Regions from separate parts of the Homo sapiens genome. Here region 1 is linked to region 2. The links are contacts of gene promoters, found by promoter capture Hi-C in human tissues and cell types (Jung and others, 2019). All regions are on one chromosome and are shown on one strand. Each heading gives the region's core, a stretch centred on a gene start or on the middle of the fragment in contact. The rest is flanking DNA. Distances are from core to core; before and after follow the strand shown.

Evidence for each region. The method cuts DNA at HindIII sites, captures the fragments that hold promoters and counts their contacts. A contact is called where the count stands out against the background at its distance.
Region 1: a contact is called between a fragment that was not itself captured here and the fragment with the promoter of CYP3A7 in region 2, in 2 of the 25 tissues and cell types used here (bladder and pancreas).

What each region holds. Positions count from the first base shown.
Region 1 is chr7:99,773,839-99,780,273 of GRCh38, forward strand. CYP3A4 (cytochrome P450 family 3 subfamily A member 4) reads right to left here. Exons shown (of 13, transcript NM_017460.6): 2 at 6,154-6,247; 3 at 4,190-4,242. Among named protein-coding and RNA genes, the nearest start is that of CYP3A4, 7.1 kb to the right of the region's middle. The HindIII fragment of the contact is 3,073 bases long and covers 2,214-5,286 here.
Region 2 is chr7:99,733,477-99,739,380 of GRCh38, forward strand. It overlaps CYP3A7 (cytochrome P450 family 3 subfamily A member 7), which reads right to left and starts at 1,720. Exons shown (of 13, transcript NM_000765.5): 1 at 1,547-1,720. The coding sequence starts at 1,617. CYP3A7-CYP3A51P (CYP3A7-CYP3A51P readthrough) reads right to left here and starts at 1,720. Exons shown (of 15, transcript NM_001256497.3): 1 at 1,547-1,720. The coding sequence starts at 1,617. It also overlaps a transcript of ZSCAN25 not described here. RefSeq lists promoters at 1,617-4,630, 1,617-1,859 and enhancers at 1,865-1,895, 2,880-4,079, 3,177-3,188, 4,390-4,630, 4,425-4,454 and 1 more. The HindIII fragment of the contact is 8,535 bases long and covers 1-5,904 here.

The DNA of each region.
Region 1 (6,435 bases), core at 2,500-4,999, 42 kb after region 2:
CTAAGATCAGAGCAGAACAGAAGGAGATAGAGACACAACAAACCCTTCAAAAAATCAGTGAATCCAGGAGCTGGTTTTTTGAAAAAGGTCAACAAAATAGATAGACTGCTAGCAAGACTAATAAAGAAAAAAGAAGAATCAAATAGATGCAATAAATAATGATAAAAAGGATATCACCACTGATCCCACAGAAATGCAAATTACCATCAGAGAATACTATAAACACCTCTATGCAAATAAACTAGAAAATCTAGAAGAAATAGATAAATTCCTGGACACATGCCCCCTCCCAAGACTAAACCAGGAAGAAGTTGAATCTCTGAATAGACCAATAATAGGTTTTGAATTGAGGCAATTATTAATAGGCTACCAACCAAAAAAAGTCCAGGACCAAATGGATTCACAGCTGAATTCTACCAGAGATACAAAGAGGAGCTGTTATCATTCCTTCTGAAATTTTTCTGAACAATAGAAAAGGAGGGAATCCTCCCTAACTCATTTTATGAGGCCAGTATCTCCTGATACCAAAGCCTGACAGAGACACAACAAAAAAAGAGAATTTTAGTCCAATATCCCTAAAGAATATCGATGCGAAAATCCTCAATAAAATACTGGCAAATCAAATCCAGCAAAACATCAAAAAGCTTATCCACCAGGATCAAGTCAGCGTCATCCCTGGGATGCAAGGCTGGGTTCAAAATACCAAATCAATAAATGTAATCCATCACATAAACAGAACCAATGACAAAAACCACATAATTACCTCAATAGATGCAGAAAAGGCCTTTGACAAAATTCAACAGCCTTTCATGCTAAAAACTCTGAATAAACTAGGTATCAATGGAACGTATCTCAAAATAGTAAGAGCTATTTATGACAAACCCACAGCCAATATCATACTGAATGGGCAAAAACTAGAAGCATTCCCTTTGAAAACCGGCACAAGACAAGGATGTCCTCTCTCACCACTCCTATTCAACATAGTGTCGGAAGTTCTGAATAGGGCAATCAGGCAAGAGAAAGAAATGGATATTCAATTAGGAAAAGAGGAAGTCAAATTGTCTCTGTTTGCAGATGACATGATTGTATATTTAGGAAACCCCATCGTCTCAGCCCCAAAACTCCTTAAGCTGATAAGCAACTTCAGGAAAGTCTCAGGATACAAAATCAATTTACAAAAATCACAAGCATTCCTACACACCAATAATAGACAAACAGAGAGCCAAATCATGAGTGAACTCCCATTCACAATTACTACAAAGAGAATAAAATATCTAGGAATCCAGCTTACAAGGGATGTGAAGTTCTCCTCTTCAAGGAGAACTACAAACCGCTGCTCAATGAAATAAAAGAGGACACAAACAAATGGAAGAACATTCCATGCTCATGGGTAGGAAGACTCCATATCATGAAAATGGCCATACTGCCCAAGGTAATTTATAGATTCAATGCTATTTCCATCAAGCTACCACTGACTTTCCTCATAGAATTGGAAAAAACTACTTTAAAGTTCATATGGAACCAAAAAAGAGCCCACATAGACAAGACAATCCTAAGCAAAAAGAACAAAACTGGAGGCATCACGCTACCTGACTTCAAATTATACTAAAAGGCTACAGTAACCAAAACAGCATGGTACAGGTACCAAAACAGAAATATAGATCAATGGAACAGAACAGAGGCCTCAGAAATAACACCATGCATCTACTACCATCTGATGTTTGACAAACCTGACACACAAAAGCAATGGGGAAAAGATTTCCTATTTAATAAATGGTGTTGGTGAAACTGCCTAGCCATATGCAGAAAATTGAAACTGGACCCCTTCCTTACACCTTATACAAAAATTAACTCAAGATGGATTAAAGACTTAAATGTAAGACCTAGGACCATAAAAATCCTAGAAGAAAACCTGGGCAATACCATTCAGGACACAGGCATGGGCAAAGGCTTCATAAATATAACACCAAAAGCAATGGCAACAAAAGCCAAAATTGACAAATGGGATATGATTAAACTAAAGAGCTTCTACACAGCAAAAGAAACTATCATCAGAGCAAACAGGCAACCTACAGAATGGGAGAAAATTTTTGCAATCTATCCATCTGACGAAGGGCTAACATCCAGAATCTACAAAGAACTTAAACAAATTTACAAGAAAAAAAGCAAACAACCCCATCAAAAAATGGGCAAAGGATATGAACAGACACTTCTCAAAAGAAGACATCTATGCAGCCAACAGACATGTGAAAAAATGCTCATCATCACTGGTCATTAGAGAAATGCAAATCAAAACCACAATGAGATACCATCTCATGCCAGGTAGTATGGTGATCATTAAAAAGTCAGGAAACAACAGATGCTGGAGAGGATGTGGAGAAATAGGAACACTTTTACACTGTTGGTGGGAGTGTAAATTAGTTCAACCATTGTGGAAGACAGTGTGGTGATTCCTCAAGGATCTAGAACTAGAAATACCATTTGACCCAGCAATCCCATTACTGGGCATATACCCAAAGCATAAATCATTCTATGATAAAGACACATGCACACATATGTTTATTGCAGAACTATTCACAATACCAAAGACTTGGAACCAACCCAAATGTCCATCAGTGACAGACTGGATAAAGAAAATGTGCCACGTATACCCCATGGAATACTATGCAGCCATAAAAAAACAATGAGTTCATGTCCTTTGCAGGGACAAGGATGAAGCTGGAAACCATCATTCTCAGCAAACTATCACAAGATCAGAAAACTCAACACCACATGTTCTCACTCCTAAGTAGGAGTTGAACAATGAGAACACATGGACACGGGGAGGGAAACATCACACACTGGGGCCTGTTGTTGGGTGGGGGGCTAGGGGAGAGATAGCATTAGGAGAAATACCTAATGTAGGTGACAGGTTGATGGGTGCAGCAAACCACCATGGCACGTGTATACCTATGTAACAAAACTACACATTCTATGCATGTAACCCAGAACTTAAAGTATAATTTAAAAAACTAAAAATAAAAAATAAAATAAAATCACAGTCCATCAGCCCGCCAGTGGTTAAGAATATTCAGCATTTCTTCAAATTCAGCAGGAAGGTATAGACAAAGAAATGCTTATATACCCTTCTATTAAAAAGTCTTGGCTTAAATTTAATAACAAAACAGAATGAAAAGTTCCACACTTGCAGATAAAATTAAAAAACAACAACAGCAGAGTATAAATGGTTTGCCAATCTATTTCTCTATTATCTCTCAACCCTTCATTCAAAAGCACTTTAAATCCAAAGTCTAAATGAAAGAGTTTTGGCTTTTAATTGAAAGTGAATTGATGTGGGAAGGAGATGATATGATGTATTTATGAGCACATATTAGAAGGGTCTGAGACAACACATGTAATAAAAGGGCACCTAAGGAAAAAAAAAAAGAAGAGGGGAATAGGCAGACACTGGACAGAGCATGATGCTGTGAGTCCCTGGGCCACCAAAGTCTGGAGAAAAGTAATCACAATGCTCCCAGCCTAGTTCAGACTGTAGAACTTGACACCTGGTGACACATGGGATCCTTGGTAGGACAACCTTCGAAAAGTTTTACAATAACCAGTGTGAATGTTGTTAGAACCAAAATGATGTCACTAGTTGTGTGTGTGTGTGTGTGTGTGTGTGTGTGTGTGTGTGTGTGTAAAAACCCTGACAAATAAATCAAAGAAGGCTATGAAGAGAGGATTCTCATGCTTGTGTGCCTGATAACAAAACTATCACAAAAGACTCCGCAAAACTACAAGCTTGCACAAAGGCCATCCCAACATTAAAAAAAATATTTCTGCAAGGACACCTGCCCAGCAACTGCCTGTCCAACCTTGGTGAGGCGTCACCCTTGTTACTGATCTTTGTAGCGAAGGATAATTATTTCAAAACTGATAAGAAATCCTCCTCATATTTTCCTTGGAGCCTCTTTGTCTTGCTTTACTTCCCTGAATTTGCACATAGTTTATAAAGGCATGCAGATTCCCATTGCAATACTCTACACCCAAATAAATATCTTCTTCTTTCAGAGAACTTCTCTCTGTTTGTAGTTAGGTTGACAAGAGCTTCATCCCAAGAGGCTTTGGGCTGAGACTGTCCTCTGTGCAGTGGGGTAAACTCATCATAGAAACAAGTCTATCCAATGGAAGTTTCCAGAATACTCACCCCCACACTTTTCCATACTTTTTATGACATTCCATGTCAAACATACAAAAGCCCTGGGAGGAGAAACAAAATAATATTTGATTATTATTTTTAATGTACTTAACCCTGCCTCTAATTGGGATGAAAACAGTCGAAGCCAATGAAATCAGACTTGCTGGCAGTTAGAGGAAGCTTATTTGGAGACGTCATAAAGGAAATAAGAGAAAACAGAGGAGGTATTTGAAAAGGGAAATTTAAAATCACTCTTGAATTCTCTCCAAGTGTTGTGGATACTGAATGACTTATCCTTGTGTATAAATACTAAGTACCTCTTTGTCTTTCTGATGTCTTTTTGCTTTTTCATGTGTTGTCTTGAAAATCTCATGAATCCCTGAATGATCACCTCCAGGGGCACATGGGGAAACTGAGGCCAAGGGAAAGTGAATTAGCATCAGAAGAGAATGCACAGTGTTTTATCTCTTTGTCATCCTTTTCATTTATTTCATGAGCTCGCTCTAGAGTTCTAGCAGAATTGGAAAGTTACAGACACCAGGGAACTCCTTTAGTCTAGCAGATTTAGGTAAGTATGAGGCATGTTGTTGAGTGAGAAAATGAACGAGTGACAGAATGACAAAGTGAACTCACTTTCCAGTTTTCCAGCTTAACATGGAAGTTCTGAGAAAATGTCCCCTCTACACATCGGACACAGCAAATTACAACACTTGCTCAGAGTTTTCACTGAAACTTAAAAACAAACCTTCCTGTATCGACATTTCAGGGGTGACATTTTAACTGTGCAAACAAAGGTCCCAGGAATGTGCATCTTGGGGGTACATCTACTAAAGAGTTGACCTGGAAAAGGTGGCGGGGAAATTATTGCTTTTGCACAGGGAAAAAATATGAAATTCCTGGATAGTAATTAGACAACAAAGCCCTCACCTGAGAGAATTAGAATCTGAGAAACAAGCCTCAGGTATGTGGGAAAGATGATGTAAGCCAAAGAGCTGACTGCTGCGGCTGGCCATGTGGACATGGGCTCCTAATTTTCCATCCAGGGCCCAGACCCTGGGCAGAGCATCAGACTAGGTTAGGCACAAAGGCTCGGCCAAAGTTCACGGTCCACGTGGCACATATTATATTCTATTCAGCAAAATTAAATATTTAATAATTTCATCAAATCATCCCCTTTCTAGTGATTTTGCATGTGATTCCGCCTTTGTGTAAAAAAAAAACCCCACAAACTCATTTTGTGCTTAAATATCTGAGTTTGATTGACCACCACTGTCTCATCTCAGTTATATCCAGTCTGTGATCAGACTCACCCATAAGGTGCAGCCTTTGAAGGAAAAGAAATAAAGCAGAACCCCTTTGTTCTGTCTCTCAAAGCTGCAAAAGATGTCATGGGGAGTAAGAGCTGGGGTAGAGCCATGGAGATACCCTCAGGGAATTTAGCATTTTTCGGAGAGGATTGAAGCAGGTGCAAATGACCCAAAGGTAAATACCTGGGCTCCCTAATAAATTGAGTTTCAAAGCTGTCCAGAAGGAAGGGAAAAAAGGCTACTCAAGAGCTCTTGCTACAGAGAGGAAAGTTTGACTCTCATGTACACAGATAACAAGTCACAATCAGGGGGTCCTTTTCCTACTTTTAATACTAACTAAGTATGACTGTACCTTCCTGGGAACCTGCATAGAGCAAAAAGAAAACCTTCTTTATGGCGCTCACAAAGTTTGCACATCAAGTTCTGAGCATCAGGTTGCTGATCTACCTGAGATTTGGGCTGTTCAACTGAGGCAAACCTGAGGTTCCTGAGAGTTAGCAAGAGAGCCCTTGGGTAAACATTGCCATGTTCTGGGTGATGCCTACACACTGTTTCTGAAAGTGTAAAACTTCAGACCTTCCCCCTGAGGAGAAGCATTTTTACTGATGGAACTAAGCTGCTCTTGGCAATCATAAGAAGCAAAAGAGTGAGCTCAAAAACACTCACCTTATGGTAGGACAAAATATTTCCCAAAAAAGGCAGAGGTGTGGGCCCTGGAATTCCAAGCTTCTTAAAAAGTCCATGTGAATGGGTTCCATATCTACAAAGTGAAACAGAAATCAAGTCACAGCGATTGTGACTTTATAGATATAGGGGTTGATGAGTCATTGACTGAGGAACTGGAATGCTCAAGAGAACGAGGTAACATTAAGGCAAGAAATAATAACAGTAACTCTGACGGCAATGATTATATTTGTTCATCAGGTCCTTTCCTGCCTCCACCATGAG
Region 2 (5,904 bases), core at 470-2,969:
CCTAAGAAGGGCATGGTCTACACTATAGCTTCTGAATCCTGGGCTGTACCGGCATCGTCTAAGGCTAAGGTATTGTCTGCCTGACTGCCAGAATCTGTAGTGACAGCCCCACAACATGGCCAGCCACACACAGAGTGACACTGATGGTGCCCTTGTGTCCAGGCTTCAAGCAGATGAGATGCCAACATGTTTGTCCTTCAAGTGACCTCCACTAGGGGGCCAGGACCCATGAATATCTATTTGGAGTTCTACCCTGAGGGGTAAGGAATATTTTCTCACTTCATCTTGATCCTACCTGGATGCTTTTGCTATCATCACTGGCTCACAGTCTTGCTTACTTTCTAGCCCTGAGAGTTTAGGATAACCTGCTAAGCAGGTGTATTTGAAATGGGGGTATTAAAATAAACTCTTGGGAAAGTATTTTTAAAAAGACATATGCAGTCTTGTCCTAGAGATATATATTTGTACATTAGACTCATATTCCTGACATTATTCTGGAAAGGTGAGGTTATCTTATACACATTTATTGTCACAAATACTGAACTAATAGCCCTCTTTTATCACTCAGAAGGAACATGCTGGAAATAGTCTATCTCCAAAAAAATCTGGCTTTAAAAAGGATGAATTTAAGCCACACCAATTCATGTTAAATTGCCAGTAGATGGAAACTATGTTACCACAACTCACTGAATTGCTAACTTTTCTGTGAAAGAATTAAAACGAGGTTTGTATTTTCTGTTTCCATGTGACCATGATTCCTTACTCTTAATAACTGTGAAATTGAGTTAGAAGTAAAATGTGACAGGCGGGAAGCCTCCAGTACACACAGTAGGGAGTGACTCTTCTCTCCACCTGCTCTAGGATGCCAGGATCTCACTGGTGAGAAGATTCACCCTCTTCTCCTGCAACTTAAAGGGAAAAATGTAAAATCCAAATTCTGGTTTGGTAAGCTGGGTACAAACCATTGTCTATTAGATTATCCTCAATCAATGCTGTCCCTAAACCCTTCTTTCCACTAAAGATGAATGGGGGAGATGCTTATTTATTCCTTTATAGATCTGCAAAACATCCATCATAACCTCTATATGTTTGTAGCATCCAACACTTAAGCTACTTCTCCTTGAAAATCTTTTTTTTTCTTTTTTTTCTCTTTTTTTTTTTTTGAGATGGAATCTCACTCTGTTACCCAGGCTGGAGTGCAGTGGCATGATCTCAGTTCACTGCAACCTCCGCCTCCCAGGTTCAAGCAATTCTCCTGCCTCAGCCACCCAAGTAGCTGGGACTACAGTTATGCACTACCATGCCCAGCTAATTTTTGTAATTTTAGTAGAGATGGGGTTTCACCATATTAGCCAGGCTGGTCTTGAACTCCTGACCTCAGGCAGTCCACCTGCTCAGCATCCCAAAGTTCTGGGATGACAGGTGTGAGCCACCACGGCCAGCCTGAACATCCTTTTTGCTATTCAAAACAGATAAGGGAAAGAGAGGCCTGATTAGCACCCCAAGTCCAAGGAAACAGAGAAGAGGAGCCTGAACAGTTACTCACAGATAGAGGAGTATCAGGCTGACAGCCAGGAGAAGCCAGGTTTCCACGGCCAAGTTTGGGATGAGATCCATCACTACTTTCCTTCCTTATCTCTCTCCTCTGAGTCTTTTTTTCAGCAGCGTGCTGCTGTTTGCTGGGCTGTGTGTGTGGAGCTTTCCTGCCCTGCACAGCAGTGATTCAGTGAGGCTGTTGGATTGTTTATATGCTGGAGAAGGAGGCAGGGCTGGAGCTGCAGCCAGTAGCAGGGCCCCCGTGCTCTGCCTGCAGTCGGAAGAGGCTTCTCCACCTCGGCAGTTGGCAAATAATCACACACACACCACTCACTGACCTCCATTGAGTTAATATTCTATGTAGAATCATACACAACTCAATCAATGTTACTGGGGAGTCCAAGGGTTCTGGGTTCTTATCACAAACTCAAGTGGAGCCATTGGCATAAAATCTATTAACTCTCCTCTTGTCTCTATGGCTGTCCTCATTCCAGAATACTTGAAACTCATCCCAACAAGCCATGCCTACAGATCTTTACCTATGCCTGGAGTGTGCCTGTGCCCCCTAGAAGACTCCTACACATCCTTTCATACCCAGCCAGACAGAGCCTTCTCTTAGAGTCTTTCCTCACCAACCCCCTCACACAGAAGTAACCATTTCCTCCCCTGGGCACTTTCCATCCCCTTCATGCAGTTCTATTGTCTTCTTTCCTCTTTACCACCATTGTGTGTTTCCAGGCCTGTTTCCCTTAGCAGAGGTGAGCTCCTCAAGGGCATAGTCTGGTCTTACTCACTCTCATGGCTCTGGTCCCTATCAGGGTGCTGTACACACAGTGGGGACCAGAAAGGCTGGTGGAGTTGACTTGGCTGAGATTGCTGGGCCCCTGTGTGTCACTTCCTCTGACTTTCTGGTGACCACTCCATCTTCTTAGGTCATTAATACAGCCAGAGCTCTTGGCTGTGCCTCAGCTGCTGTCTCTGCACTTTCAGATTTGTCCTCTGTGATTCTGTTGGCAAGAGGACCCCTAAAAAAGAGACATGGCATGGATGAGATGGAGCTGATGGCTTAGTGGAATAGCATCAATTTGTGCTTCTTCCTCTGTAGCTTTCAAAAGTCCTGCCGTAGATAGAAAGTTAGACAGGTTCTTTGCCAAAGAGTGGCCCCTTCTCTCTGGAAATACTGCATGTCTGGAAACAGTAGGGGAGAAAGAAGAGAAGAGAACAGCTGCCCAGATGGCCAGGTTGACCCAAACCACCTCAGCCAGCAACAATGGGGCAGTGGTCACTGCAGGTCACACAGCATCAAGGACTCCAATGAGGTGGTCCCAGCCTCTTGAGGGTGGAATTGGAATTCAAAGCAAATGGCTTCCTTTTTGACAAGTGGAGGATTTTCTAATGGGAGGAGAGCAGGTGCCAGGAGCTGGTAGAGATGAGGCCTGTAATAACAGTTGCTGCCACCTGTGAGCCCTGTGACCCATTCCTGATGGGAGAGATCTCAGTGATGAGGGTGTGAAAATTATATCAGCTCATTATCATCACTCACACCCAAGTTCTGTGTCTGCTTGGCCTGAGAAATGGATTCCATGACAAACAAAATCTCAGAGTTGTTAAAACTCAGTAGAAACAGATGATGTTTAAGCTGTGCTTGTTCACTTCCTTCTCTCTTTATTCTTTCTCAGGTTCAGCACTCCTGCAGAAACTGATACTCACCCCAGAAAGACACCTTTTCCCATCCCTCTGGCCCCTAAGCCTCCAGGGCTGCTCGGCACCTGGCCTCAGCAGGTGAACATCATGCCAGATTCCTTGTCAGATTCAAGGCCAAGTGGGTGAATGTCATGTGCAGTGTTGTGCCAGGTATGTGCCGGGAGCCACATGTTCCTTGGGGACAGCCTAGTGAAGCAGGAGACAAATAAACATGCTTGGATGGAGGTATGCATGTGCTGTAACTCTGGAATCCCTGGAATAATGGAGCCCTACAGAGAGGTACCTAAGAAAAGAAGTGACAGCGTCAAAGCAACAAAGGACAGACACGGGTAGGTGGGTGACAATCCCCAGGAGAAGTAGGATAAAAGTCCAGGGAATTCTGGTACATTTCTGTCTCCTTTCAGTGGCTTCGCTGAGCACATTAAATAGGGCCATGCTACTATCCCCAGTTTACAGATGTAGAAACTGAGGCTCAGTGACTGCAAGTAGCTTCCCAACTGATACTGATCACAATAAAATATTATAAAAAGTTAACAGGAAGGGAGATATTAGGTCCTCTGCTGCTCTGGTGCACCTGCCATTCCTTGCTAAGCATCACTATGGCAAATAGTAAGACTCAAGGCTGCAACCAGAAATTGGTTGAGATTCGTGTTCCTGTCTCAAGGGTTACTCCCAGTGGCACCCCCTGGGTTTTCTAGAACAAAGGACTCCATCTCAGCAGGGAGAAAGAAAGATGCAGTTTCTGACCATATCAATGGCATTGCTGGAGGATCTCCCTCTCTATGTTGCCACACCGAGAGGTGCACAGAACACATTCTGACAAGTAAAGATTCCAGTGTCATCTGATAACTATCAACAACTTCATTAGCTCACCTAAACAAAGAGCCTTTCTTATTTTTTTAGAAACAAAACTCTTATGGAAACGATTATGTTTTCTTCTTTCCTCTAAAACACTTACTTGGCTAAGATGATTTTTATTCTAAGATGAAGATTTACCTGCCCTACAAACTTCAGGAGGTGGTGTGACTGGTTGGAATCTATACCAACAGTGATAGACTAATCGTTGCTTGGAATTCAAATGCAGCCAGCACTCTGTCCTAACTAATGAAATTGGTGTTGTTCTGCAAAGGAAAATAATTGAAGGCATGTTCTGCCACTTAATTCCACAGAAAGTAACATCTTCTAACATGTAGGGACTTGCCTACTGAGAGCTGCACTGACTGTGTCAAGGAAGATACTATGCATTGGAAGAACACCCAAGCAACACTTGCCTCTCCCCTACTCATTTCCTGTATTAAAGCATTCATCATGTTTTTAAAGCTGTGCTGTCAGTATTGTGCTCCCAGACATTATTCTTGGTCTTGGTCAACTTTGTACCCTAAGCACATGGAGAAGAGACAAATAAGCAGATAATTATAGGACAGCTAAGGAAAAATAATCATAAAATTGTGAGAAAAATCATGTCCTTATCAACAATGAAAGACGTTTCTTCTTTCTTGGTCTGGTTTCATTGGATCAAAGTTAAATCTCAACATTCAGAGAAGCATTAGGCTCAGATATCAGCATGAGTGGACAGGCTGTCCAGGGACTCAGTGATGCAAGGAACACCTTCACTCCGATATTTTCATCCTTTTATATTGGTAGTCCAAGTGGTACCTCTCTTCTGGGAAGCTTGTTCTGACTTCCAGTGGCCAAGTGAATTACTCGTGGTAGGCAGAAGCAACATTGCTCTGGAATGATTTGTGTATTAGATTCAAATTTCACAGGTCATGATCTTGAGGATGTAAACCAAAAAAAAAAAAAAAAAAAAAAAAGACAGATTATCTCTCTGTAACTCAGCTCTCAAGTCCCCATTCTTCTCAGTAGGGGAAAACTTGATTTTGCATGTTGGGGTGACCACGTGGTATCTAAGTTTTGTTTTTATTTATTTATTTTTGAAATTGTTTTGAGGCAGGGTCTCACTCTGTTGCTCAGGCTGGAGTTCAGTGCTGTGGTTATAGCTCACTGTAGCTTCCACCTCCTGGGTTCAAGTGATCCTCCTACCTCAGCCTCCTTAGTAGCTGGTACTACAGGTATACCACCATGCCCAGCTAATTTTTAGTACAGATGGTGTCTAGCTATGTTGCCCAGGCTCGTCTCAAATTCCTGGCCTCAAGTGATCCTCCTGCTGCTGTCTCCTAAAGTTCTGAGATTTCAGATAGGAGCCACCACACCTGGCCTTTAAGTTTTGGTGGCTGGAGGAGGGGATTAGCAATGCTTTCGGGCCTCATGCTTAGGGGTGGTGTTGAGGAGAGTGACAGGTCCATGGACATGTACTCTAGGCACTGGAGGAGGTAGGTGTCTCACTTCGATGCCACTGTATGTTGGTTAGTCTGTATGCCTGCTGTGTTCAGGGCATGTGGCAAGCACTAAATATTAAAGAATCAAAATCCTTGTCCTGATGAAGCTATCTCTCTAATAGGACAAAGAGATACTAAACAGTGACAAAAATAATACTGAATTACAAATTGGGAAAAATGCTATGAAGTAAAAGAACCCTTTACTTAAGCTCCCAGTGATATCAGACACAGTTGATCCTTCTTTCTTTCCTTAAACTCTCTCTCTCTTTGAAAGACATGAATACAACAGAATCAACAAGACTTGACAGATGGGAAGTGTGAGACC